Linked DNA regions of Homo sapiens: region 2 is linked to region 1. The links are contacts of gene promoters, found by promoter capture Hi-C in human tissues and cell types (Jung and others, 2019). All regions are on one chromosome and are shown on one strand. The core of a region is centred on a gene start or on the middle of the fragment in contact, and the rest is flanking DNA. Distances in the headings are between cores, read along the strand shown.

The links. Contacts are between HindIII fragments. The study calls those that stand out against the background at their distance.
Region 2: a fragment that was not itself captured here is called in contact with the fragment with the promoter of ENDOU in region 1 in 2 of the 25 tissues and cell types used here (IMR-90 fibroblasts and aorta).

What each region holds. Positions count from the first base shown.
Region 1 is chr12:47,722,369-47,728,429 of GRCh38, reverse strand. It overlaps ENDOU (endonuclease, poly(U) specific), which reads left to right and starts at 2,940. Exons shown (of 10, transcript NM_001172439.2): 1 at 2,940-3,071. The coding sequence starts at 3,017. The region is part of intron 3 of RPAP3-DT (RPAP3 divergent transcript); the gene reads right to left. RefSeq lists silencers at 1,281-1,340, 2,306-2,425. The HindIII fragment of the contact is 12,082 bases long and covers 1-5,742 here.
Region 2 is chr12:47,807,438-47,813,498 of GRCh38, reverse strand. All of the region lies in intron 1 of HDAC7 (histone deacetylase 7), which reads left to right. Among named protein-coding and RNA genes, the nearest start is that of HDAC7, 9.4 kb to the left of the region's middle. RefSeq lists a silencer at 288-477 and an enhancer at 4,498-4,567. The HindIII fragment of the contact is 4,015 bases long and covers 1,533-5,547 here.

The DNA of each region.
Region 1 (6,061 bases), core at 1,691-4,190:
ATGTGAGTACCTAATGGCGGGGGGTACTCAGAAAGAGGAGCCGCAGAGTTCTTGGTCCACAACAGGCTAGCAGGGAAGAGAAAGCTGCCTGAAATCTATCTTAATGTATCTCTCTCTCTCTCTCTCTCTCTCTCTCTCTCTTTTTGTGTGTGTGTGTGTGTGTGTGTGTGTGTGTGTATACACACATACATGGACATCTAAGTTTATGAGGCATCTTTGCATGAATATGTATTGATATATTTTCATTTATTGGCTTAATGGATTTTTTCTGCCTTTGTCAGCATGTCTTCGGTTATAAAATCTGGGGTTTGGGAATCCGATCTGCGAAGAGGGCGTATGAGCAGCCGTGGGAGGGCATATCCCAATTCCCCACCCCTCAACCCTCAGCACCAGAGGCAATGAAGGAGAGGCAGGACAAGCACTTAGGGTTGTTTAGGGAGTTGTGACATCCTATGAGAAGTGGAACTAGATGGCAGTTGAGGTCCCTTTAATTCCAGTGAATTTAAATCTAGACTGCTTTGTATAGTAACCAGACATGATTAAGTGGTCGTTCAAAGTGTGATGTTGTGGGGCAATGGAGCAACGGTGCTTATGAGAATGACCCCTGGTCAGATGGATCTGGGTTGAGGCACAGCTGCATAACTTAATGATTGTGTGCTTCTGGGCACGTCTCCTAACCTTTCTGTGCCTCAGTTTCTTCATCTGTAAAATGAGGACAGCAATAGTACCTATTAAGGTTGTAGTGAGAATCAATGAGATAACACATATGATAACACACGTGGTAAGTGCTCAGTCAATGTTGCTGGTGGTTGTTAAGGCTGTTATTCTTATTGAAGGATGCAGTTTTAAACACTTGGGTACTCAGATGAACCATCTGGCTCTATGGAGTCATCCTTAACTGTCTTCCCCAGCTCCAATCCTTGCTCCTGACCTAAAATTCCATTAATGGGGGGAGAGCTCCTGCCCTCAAAACACCATCCCATGGCCAGTTCAGCTGGACACTAGGAGAACCTAGCCAGGCTGTACTCCACTCTGACAGCTTTGGCTTCAGCTAGGGTCCACCCAGCTGGACACTTGGAAGGGACAGACCATTCATTCCCAAATTCTGAGGCATCATTGCTTCCCAGGCCAGCCAGTGACACCCTCCTTTGTCCCCTAAACAACAGGAGTCAGAGACACGTTTATGTGGTGCCAACCCAGGGAGGATGAGGATTCTGAGGGGCAGTGACTCTTCAGCCTGCTTTTGGATTGTGTAAATGAAATCTATGCAAATGAAGCAGCCATTTCTGCTCTTACTCATTCTAACCAGCTCCCTTCTGGGAGAGAAGGGCTAGGCTCACTCTTTAGTTGTGCTTCCGGGCTGGATGCAGTGGCTCACACCTGTAATCCCAGCACTTTGGGAGGCCAAGGTGGGCAGATCACCTGAGGTCAAGAGTTTGAGATCAGGTTGGCCAACATGGTCTCTACTAAAAATACAAAAATTAGCCAGGTGTGGTGGTGCATGCCTATAATCCCAGCTACTCGGGAGGCTGAGGCATGAGAATTGCTTGAGCTGGGGAGATGGAGGTTGCAGTGAGCCGAGATCACACTGCTGCACTCCAGCCTGGGCGACAGAGAGAGAGATTCCATCTCAAAATATATACATACATTGCACTTCCTGTGTGAGCCCCTTGCAAAGTTTGCTTGCCCTAGGCTTGTCCTTCTCTCTACCCCTGAGTCCCTATGTTTGGACTCCTCTCTACACAGCAACAGGCTGGGGGATTCTCTTTAACCCACCAGCAACTGTTCAACCTGGCGCATGGGCAGGAAAACTCGAGATTAAAGTCTGAGAACCTGGAAGGGATTGTCAGATCCAACCCCATCATTTCAGATGAGAAAGCTGAAGACCAGCGAGAGGAAGAAACTTCTCCTGTTAAAGCACACTGGATGAAGACGTGCTCCACTCCCAACCTCCAGAAAAAAATCACTGATAGAGTGGCCTCCACTGTTCACCAATTTTGCCTTTTTATATGATAGTTTTCTTTCCTGAGAGGGTTGAGAATCCCCATGCAGTGCTCTTTCTGGCAAGGGCATCATACTTGGCAGATTTTACCTTTATTATCGGGGAAAACTGGACAGTCACGGGGAGCTGCTCCCCTTCTTTTGGACTTGGAAACAAAAGAACCTCACTGGGGAGGAGTTCCTGAGGAGAGGAGTGTAAGTTGGGGTGAAGGGAGTGAAACCCTGGGCTCCCAGGGGAAGAAGAGTGGGCCTTCGGCTGCCTTTAAGAGGCCTCTTGCCCCTCCCCTGCCTCATAAGGAATCTGAAACGTTTAAACCCCAGAGGCTGACTCAGTAAGAGTCATTTGCATAATATTTTAGAGTGATTTAGCCATGCGCTCGACATGTGGCTGATTTAGCTATGCTGGGCTTGGTGGTCATAAGAATAGCACTGGTTCTGACCGACACATCCTCTATCTCTCTGTCCAATGACCCCAACCCTTGCTTGGGCACTTACTGTTTGTCAAATTTGGACCAATCACCTTACTGTGTGCCAGTGTCATGCTAAGCTCCAGGAATTTGAAGATGAATCCAACCTGTGGCCCCTTGGAAAGTCAGGTCTGAGACTTGGAAGTAGGTGTCTGTTTGGTGGGGATCACCCAAAGATCAGCCCATGGGTGTCCCTAATTTGGACAAAGAACCCTCCAAACTGGACCCATCTTGGTGTGCCTGCCTGCATGACCTATTTTTTAAGCTGCAAACAGCTAGCATTACCTGTTCTCAACATCTGGCATTACCTACCTTCTTAGTCACCTTCCCTCAGGCTTCAAACAGCTGTAGGGCCCCACCTCCTATCCATCTAGGGTCCCTCCCTCCCCTTTTTCTTCCTGAAAGGATCTGGAGACACCAGCTCCACAAGTCCTGGTGTCTTTAAAAGGATCAGCTTGAGGAATAAGGCTCGTCTGAGAGCTGTGACATTCATCTGACTCTAGTGAAAGTCCAACAGCCACTCCCTTTTTGGCCTCCAACTGGGCACCATGAGGGCCTGCATCTCCCTGGTATTGGCCGTGCTGTGTGGCCTGGCCTGGGCTGGTAAGTCACTATCTGGCGGGCATGGGATTGCTGGTGGGGCGGGATCTTGCCTAAAGAAGCAGAGAGTTGGAGAACTTGGTAGAGGGCAGGGCCGTGGGACAAGGGAGGGTGAGCTCTGTCCTAAAGCCGCAGAGCACTTTTGGGTTGTCCTTGTCTGAGGGTGCAGGCGTTGGTCCCGGAATGGACTGGACTATGTGGAGAGAGTTGCAGGGCTGATGGTCTGATTTCATGGAATTCCCTTCTTGACACCTTGGAGGATCAGCCCCAAATATCCCTTAGTCCAGCCTGACTTTTGATCTCCCCAAGATTTTGTTGTCTGGGGCCACTGTAAGGAATAAAGCTAGGGCTGGTGTCCATGGGGTCTGAGTGGCCTGGCTGCCCTTGGTCACTCCTTCCACTGCCTGGTGACAGGTGAGGTTGTTTAGGGTGTGATGTTACTTTGGGTAGAGCCTTAGGAGGTGGGCAGGCTTAGGAGGAAACTGAAAGGACCTTTGACCAGGAGGTGGGCCTCGTCCTATCTGGGGCTGTACAGGGGTCAGAGGAATGGATCTCTGTTGCAGTGTTAGGAGAATTGAAGAATACAGAAGGGACCTGGCCCACAGTTATGAGAGGTCCAGGGGATGGGACTGGCAGAGGAACAGGACCATGTTCCTGTTTAGTAACTGTGCAAAATGCTGGTGCTGATGGGTTAATTGGTAGCTAGTGGGTGGGTGGGAAGGAGTGCCAAGGGAGGGGCTGAGCTGAGGAGTGTGGGGAGAATCCTCCTCTGCCCACAGGAGAAAGAATCCTTCCACTGGGTTGCTCCTGTGTAGGACTGTGGAAAGGATTAAATGAAATAATGTATGAGAAGCACCTGGTGCAAAGTGAGATCTCAGTGAACTGGAAATTCGCTATGATTATGACTATAAATTTTCTTGGGAGAAACTTCCGCTTGGGGTCATTTCCAACTGGGTTGTGGAAAGGAGACCCTTATGGGATTTCTAAGTGGAAAACCCCTGGAAGAGGAAGTTGTGCCTCCCAACCATGGATGAGATAGTGCATCTTACCAGAAACCAGCTCTGCCTGGGCCCTAGTGGGTGGAGAGGCAGTGGGAGAGCATGAGGGTGGGCCTGGGAGCCACCAGCCTCAGCCCTGTTGGTTGGGAGGAAGGTGGAACTTGGGGGCTTAATGTGTAGGGGTGGCCAGCGGGCTTGGCATATTCCAGCCTTAGGGAAGGAGAGCAACTCTGGATATTTGGTCCCTGGGGGGCAGAGGTAGCAGTGGCTTTAGAAGTGCAGGTGGAGCTCTTGCTGCTAGGTCGGAGGGCAGTATCTGCTTTGGCTGTGGGATCGATGGGGAAGTGAGGTCAAGTGTATGAGGCTTCCTAAGGTGGCAGGGAAGAGGCTCTGCACTTGTTGATACTATCCCAACATCTCAGAACTGAGAGGCAAGAATATGAATCACATGGGGAATCACTGACAGCCTCAGGTCCTCCTTTATGAGCTGGATGTCTGTGGAGAACCTTGGTTGATTTTTTTGGTTGTGAATGGAGGCAGGAAGCTAGTCCAAGGGGTGAGGCTTCTTGGTTGACTAGGTCTCCATGGAAACAGCATCTGGGGCCTTCTAACGGTACAGATGTGTAGGATGTCCCAGTCATCAGAGGGGCTGAGCACCAGTGTACAGGGACACTGTGTCCACCCAGGCTTGGGACCAAGCTTCCTTGATGGCCAGTATGGATAGGGAGTGGCTGTTCTGGCATATTGAAGTCTTAGAAAGTGCAGAGAAATTGAGCATTTCTTGGGGGAATGGAGGGAGAATCTGAACCCGAGAGAGGAAAGGCTCAGATGAAGAAAGGCAGAGAGTCAGAGAGGTGAGGCAGAGGAACAAGAGGCACAGGTTACTACAGCAGTGATTCAGGCACCTGGCTTGGGGAGCAAGGCTTACTCAGAGTGTTGGTGTTAATGGTGCAGTGTGGGGATGCTGGAGTGAGTTGTTAGGGTGACTAGTTACTCATCAGAGTGTCCCCAGAATGTCACAGCAAAGTGCCTATGAGGAAAAGTTCCTCCCACCCCTGCACTCCACTGTCAAATCCCAAGGTCACCTTGAAGCAGACTAAGTGCACAGAGAAATGTGAGAAAGTGCTGGCATGGGGCTCTTGCTGGAGACAAAGTTCTTGAGCAGAGATGAAAAAGCCCACTCAGCTTGGGCCGGCGGGGGTGCTCTCCTGCACGTCCAGCTGACTGCTCGCTTGCAACCCTTCTCAACTGGTGCCAGCTGCTGGAATGAAGTGAATTCTTTCCCTGGACTCTGCTGATTTGGCCCATTAAAAACATTGCCCTGATTTGCCTGAATTCTCTCCCTTTGGATTCTGGGTGTACTGCCAGGCTGACTGAGCAGGGAGCTGATGGGCTGAAAATTTCTCCTTAAGGTCTTTGCATTCAGGCTCCAAGGGAGCATCATTTAACATTCAAGAGGAGTTCCTGCCGGCTTGAAGGAACAAGTGGCCTTGGGCCTGGTCTCTTTTAGGGACTGGAAACCTGCCTTCCTGCCCACCTTGGAGGCCTGACAATGTGAAGTTGTCTGAGGACCCGGGTTAACCTTGACCCAATGCCTCTCTGATGTAAAGAATACAGACCTGTAGTGATGAAGTCAGCCAGGAAACCAGCAACACAGATGTGCTGACAACCCAGCCCAAGGGATGGCCCTGTTGAAACCCTGGGAGAGTGTCAGCTAGATTAAGTGTGTCGACGGGGCCACAACACAGGGAAGACTGCTCCAGCCAGTCTGAACACTTGTCACTTGGAAGATGGGCATGAAATATTGCCACCGTTTATTCACCTAACAAATACTTCTATGGTACTACTATGTGTCACTTGCTGTCCTAAGTGCTTTACATATATTAACTCATTTAATTCTTACAAATATTCTATGAGATAGGCTCCATTATCATCCCACTTTTACAGATACGAAAACCAACGCACAGAAGTTCAAATAACTTGCCCAAGATCACA
Region 2 (6,061 bases), core at 2,291-4,790, 84 kb before region 1:
TCCCTGCAGGACCCATTCCAAGGAGCCTAGCTCTGGCTCCTGAGGTGACCCCAGCCCAGAAGTCCCATTCCCCTCTACCCCAACCCCCAGAATGGCAGGAGGAGCAGGGCAGTCTGGGAGTGACAGGTTCGGAAAGAGTCTGGGGTGGGGGAATTCGGCGATTGGGCTGTAACCGTCTTGTTTTGCTTGCCCCACAAACCTGCACGTCCGGGACGTCCGCTGCGCCCTCCCAGGCGCGTTCAGGTTATAGAACTGCTCTCAGAATGACAGGCTGGTGGCACCCGGCTGGGGCGGGGGGTGGGGAGGTGAAGGGGGGAGCCCCAGGCAAGGGGGAGCTGGAGGGTTAAAAATAGCAGCAGCCTTGTTTCGGTTAGCAAATGTGGAGGCGGGGAGCTGGAGGCGGGGCGGGCGGCGGACGATGTTTGCCCGCAGCGCAGGGCTGTGCTTCCCCTGGGTCCCGGGAGTGAGTCACGGCGGAGACGCTGAGGAGGTGCTGGCGCAGCACCCCACCCCCACCGGGCGAGGGGCTGAGCGCAGGCCTCGCCCCCCAGATTCCAGCGCTGAAGGAGGTGTGACTCTCCCTTCCAGGCAGCCGGGGCCGCCTTGAGAGTGAGCCAGGGGCATCGTGTGATAATAGGGAAGAAATGTGCCATTCTGACGCCAGAGATCTGGGTTTGAATCTTAGTCGAAAGGTGTGGGATCTTGAGTAAGGATGCTGATGGCTCTGAGACTCGATTTCCTAGTTTCAAGTGGGGCTTTTCTCTGTGCCCCACTTAGTGCTTAAAGCACTCTACAGATGTTAATTATCGCCTTAGACCCTACTGTATATATGGCAAAGCCTGGCAGGAGAGCTTCCTGTAAGGACGCAGAGGGAGGAATGGGATGGCCTTGGCTGAGTCTCGGTTTCTCCTGCAAGTGTGATTATGGGCACATTTTGCTCTGTGCCTCCACTTCTTCATCTGTAATGTGAAAATAATTACAGTTTCAACTTTATGGAGTTGCTATGAAGATTAAAGGAGATAATGTAAATAAAGTTAGCTCTGTGCCTGGTATGAAGTCAGGGCTCACTGAATATTCATCATCATTATTAATGTTATTGTTCATATTTTTTGAAGGTCAGGGATAGGGAATGTTGCAGACACGAAGAACAGAAACTGGGCCTAGCCCCAGTTCACAGAAAAAACCAGGCCAAATCCCTGTTCCAGATTCCTCCACCCATCGCGGCCTGGAACAGCCAGAGAGCTGTAGCCAGAAGTCATAGGGTGGACCCCTGCTTCTCTTGTTCACTCCCTCTCCCAGCCTCTCCCAGTGAGGCAGGGCGAGGAGGGACCCCAGGGCCTTGAAGCCAGCTGGCCCTGGAGAGGGGCTGCTGTGCCAGCTTGGGGAGGGTCTGGGATGGGGCTGCCCCTGATGGCCCTGATGTGGAGTACCTTGCCAGCATCTGCTGGGGTGAACTTTATTTTAGCCCTTCCCTTGTTGCTCTTATGAAGAACAGAGGAGGGGTGGGCAGGTCAGTGATGTCAGCAGTGAGTATTCCCAGCACAGCGGCTCTGGAAGAGGCATGAGGCATTTCTTTCAGGAAATGATCATTATTCAGCCAGAAGGCATTCATTAAGTAAGTCCTGACTTTGTGCCCAGCTCTGTGTTATAGGCCCTTGGCGAGACTCAGGAGGGGCAGAGGACGCTAGGTTGTAGATAACACGGAACCTCAGAGGATATATGGTCCAAGAAGACCCGGGGGCGGTGAAAACCCTGTGGACTAATGCTCACGGGAGCCCGAGGTCACACTTTGACTTTGCTACCATGGGCTGTGTCTATGTACGTATATATGCTGCGTAATTATTACAGAGGCAGTCCATGTGCATTGTGGATACTCAGACAGGACAGACCAGCAAAAACTAAAAAATAAAAAACATCACAGACGCATCAGTCAGAGATCACTGCACATCTTTCCATTTCCGTATGTGTCTTTATGTGTTGTAATTTTTATGAAAATGAGATTACTCTGCATATACTGTTTTTTCAGTCAGTGATTTCCACCTTCCATTACAGTAAATTTTCATCTTAACGGAATTCCCAGTTGGCCAGAAATTGTCCTTACAGCTGGTTTGTCCAAATCAGTACCCAGGACCATGCCATCTGTCTGTTGAGTGACCTGAAGGCAGTGTAAGCACCCTAGCTGGATTTGTGATCTGGAAAAACCCCTTCAACCAAGTCTCAAGGGCAGCCTGGCTGCAAAAGGGAATCAGGTCACGTGGAGAATCTGCCCACTAGACTTCTGCTGTCTTCCAAAGTAATAGGCAAAAGGAGGGGGATTCTAGGGCACCACTGGGATGGGACCTCTAGGGTATTTACTGTCATTAATGTTAATGTGGCATCCCTGTGAGTGTCAGGATTCACAGCTTGTGGCTATTCACATCCGAGATGCCTCAGTTCGGTTTGCCTGGTTCTTACTGAGTGCAGACCAGGGTCTCCATTGTGGCTTCTGCCTTCCTCTGCCCCAGATCCAGGGATGCTGATAGCCGTGCGGCTGTGTTCCTAGTCCCCAGAAAGTGGCCCTGAAGGTAGGTGCTCCCTTTTGCACTTGTGGGTGCTTCCAGCGCTTCCACCTGCCCAAGGCCTGCCCGTGAGTGAGAGACAGAGATAGAGATAGAGAGAGAGAGAGAGAGAGAGAGAGAGAGAGAGAGAGAGAGACCTTTTCCTCCCAAGAGAATTTACCCCCGAGTACCCACTCTGAGGGTGACTTGCTCTGGTTATGCAACCCGCATTTTGTAGAGGGCTTGACAGTTTCCAGAGAGCTCACGCAGCGTTTGATCCTCTGTGGCAGCCCTGGGAGGTTTGCTTGTTTAGTTATACCCTGCTGGAGGCAGCTAACAGGAAACACTGTAAAGTGTTTAAATGGTACACTTTAAAATGGTAAAATGTACATTTAAAAAGGAAGGGAAATAGAAGATGAAAAAGGAATTGAGGATGGCAGGGGTGGAACACAGCACACTTTGTGGGAACAGGCTGGCATTGGGAGCATACCCTAGGGCCTCACTGTGTCTTGCATCCCCTTGTCCCCTTGGTGGTCTCACCTCAGCCACTACTAGGAGGCAGGCTGAGTAAGCAGTCCACGCCAGTGTACCGATGCTAAGCTTAGGTTCTGGAGTCCCAGCAGCTCCACATACCATCTGTGTGACCTCAGCAAGTTTCTGAACCTCTCTTAGCCTTAGTTTCCTCATTTGCAAAATGAGAATAATAACAGTATATAGGCCGGGCGCAGTGGTTCACGCCTGTAATCCCAGCACTTTGGGAGGCCAGGGTGGGTGGATTCAGTGAGTTCAGGAGTTTGAGACCAGCCTGGCCAACATAGTGAAACACCGTCTCTACCAAAATACAAAAATTAGCTGGGCATGGTGGCTTGCACCTGTAATCCCAGCTACTTGGGAGGCTGAGGCAGGAGAATCACTTGAATCCGGGAGGCAGAGGTTGCAGTCAGCTGAGATTGTGCCACTGCACTCCAGTCTGGGTGACAGAGTGAAATTCTGTCTCAAAAACAAAACAAAACAAACAAACAAAAAAACAGTATCTGCCTTACAGAGTTGTGAGGACTACTTGCAATAGTACAATTAAAATGTTTAGTGGGGGCCTGGTGTGGTGGCTCAGGCCTGTAATCCCAGTACTTTGGGAGGCAGAGGTGGGCGGATCACTTGAGGCTGGGAGTTCGAGACCAGACTAATCAACAGGGTGAAACCCCGTCTCTACTAAATATACAAAAATTAGCCAGGCATGTTGGCGCACGCCTGTAATCCCAGCTACTTAGGAGGCTGAGGCAGGAGAATCACTTGAACCCGGGAGGCAGAGGTTGAAGTGAGCCAAGATCGTGCCACTGTACTCCAGCCTGGGTGACAGAGTGGGACTCCATCTCAAAATAAATAAATAAATAAAAATCGCTTAGTGGGAGGATGTTGCCCTCCCCCCGCCAAAAATGCCTAGGATAATAGCCAGCACACAGTAAGCATTAACACATGATTGTTGATCATTATTAATATTATTAATTAATTAAAATAATATAACTATTGTTGATATTGTAACTTAAACATTTCCCTGGCAGTCTTGGGAATGGGCTGCGTGGCCTTGTGGGTGGCACAGGTGAGAAGAGTGAGGAAGGCACATCTCGCTCGGCCTGCAGCTGGGAGAGGCAGAACCAGTGGGCAAAGCAGGAGTAGGGTACACAGAGGGGCAGGGTCTGCATGAGGAGGGCCCAGGAGCTGGGGTGACAAGGAGAGCAAGGGAATGAGTGTGACACCTCAGAGGGGAGAAGGAGCCGCCCCTAGAGGCAGCCTGGGGCGGTGACTGTGCTTCCTGTTGGGGCAAACACTGGCCCTTGAGAAAGACTGGCTCACACTGGCTGCTAAAGGAGCAACTGGTCTAAGTGGGGCACCAGAGGGGTAAAGGCGAAGGGGAGAGATGAAGGCAGAAACTGGCCGACTTATCCCCATGTTACAGATAGGGCCTCAAATCTTGCCTGCTCAGGATGTTTTGCTTATGATAGGAAAGATGGTAGTTAGACATCATGGTGAACTTCCTATCTCAGGGACTGGAGATACTGGAGCAGAGGAGTGAGGATGAATGTGGAACTTATGTCTTTGAGGGCTTTTTGGAACTGAGAAATCTTAGGGTAGTGTGGACTAGGGGAGCCCACTGGCTCAGGAATTCCCTAAGTGGGCAGAGCAGTGCAGGGGCAGGCCAGGCTATAAGCTGAAGGCCATGGGTAATAGGAAGTAGATGCAGGCCCTCCAGGCCTGCCACCGCAGGAAGTAGCTATGCCCTCCCCTTCACAATGGACTTGCAGGGAAGGCTGAGTGGTGGCCCGAGAGGTCCCGGGAGTTGGACAGGGCTGGGAGGACCCCTGTTTTTCTCTGTCAGAGGACAGCAAGGGTCTCCAGAGAGTGCCAGACCCAGAAACCGACAGCCATACGCAACTCAGAATGGCCCAGCTCCCCGGCCTCAGGTTCTGCCAGGTCTTCATCCTTGAGGAGAGGCCACAGGGTGGAGCTGGGGATCTGGGGTGGGGGACAAAGAACCAGGGAGGATGCTTTCCCACCCCCAGGGAGCTCAAGCCGCTGCTGCCATGGTTACATCTGCTTCCTGTTTGATTCATCTCAAACAGCAGAAGTGGAGGTGGGGTGGGGGGGCGACACTGGCTCCCAGCTCAGGCCACTGCTGCGTGGGGCTGTTTACAACAGCCGCATGTGGGATTCCCAGAAAGAGACTCCAAACCGGACATCCTGCGGCTGCAAAATACCCAGGTGTCAAGAGCTAAAAATAGCTGCCTCAGGGCCCCAGCTGCCCTGAGGTGGCGGAGAAAGAGGCATGCTCACTGTTGCCACCCTTACATCCAGCCTCCTGTTTGGTGTGCAGGAGCTTCTCTGTCCTCTTGCCTCGGACTGATGGAGGCCTTCGTCTGGGTAGGCAGACATCCCGGCTGGCTCACCTGGCAGCTGAGCCTCTGCCCTGATGGGCAGCTGGCTCCTCTGCCTATACAGAGAAATGGTGCAGCTTGCTTTGGGACGCTAATGAGAGAGTCCTAGAGGGACTTGGGAGCTTCTAGAGAAGGGATATGGCAGGGCACTGAGAGCAGGGGAGTTGGAGCTGAGGGTCCTCTAAGACCCCAACCCATTGCCAGCCCCCTGTTTCCAGCACACAGTCCCAAATCATTGCTTGGTTTCTACAAAGTCAACAGTTGCTCCAAATGATTCTTTGAGATTGTCTTCATGGGCACCCAAAGATGACATAGCTTCTGCCCTCTCACCTGCGCAGGGCTGGGGATTGCTGCTGGCACGGGTCTCTGTGGGGCTGTGTGATTTTTTTTTTCCATCTTTCTGCATGCCCATCTAGGTCCTGCATGTGTCCTTTGCTGGCTGGCCTGTGGCGAATGGGAATGCTGGGGAGGAGGGGTGGAGTGTATTGGTTGAGAGCGTGGATTCTGAAGCCCAATTGCCTGGGCTCAAGTCCCAGCTCAACCTCTGCCACTTGTCTGTGACCTCAGACAAGTTATCTAATACTGCTGGGCCTC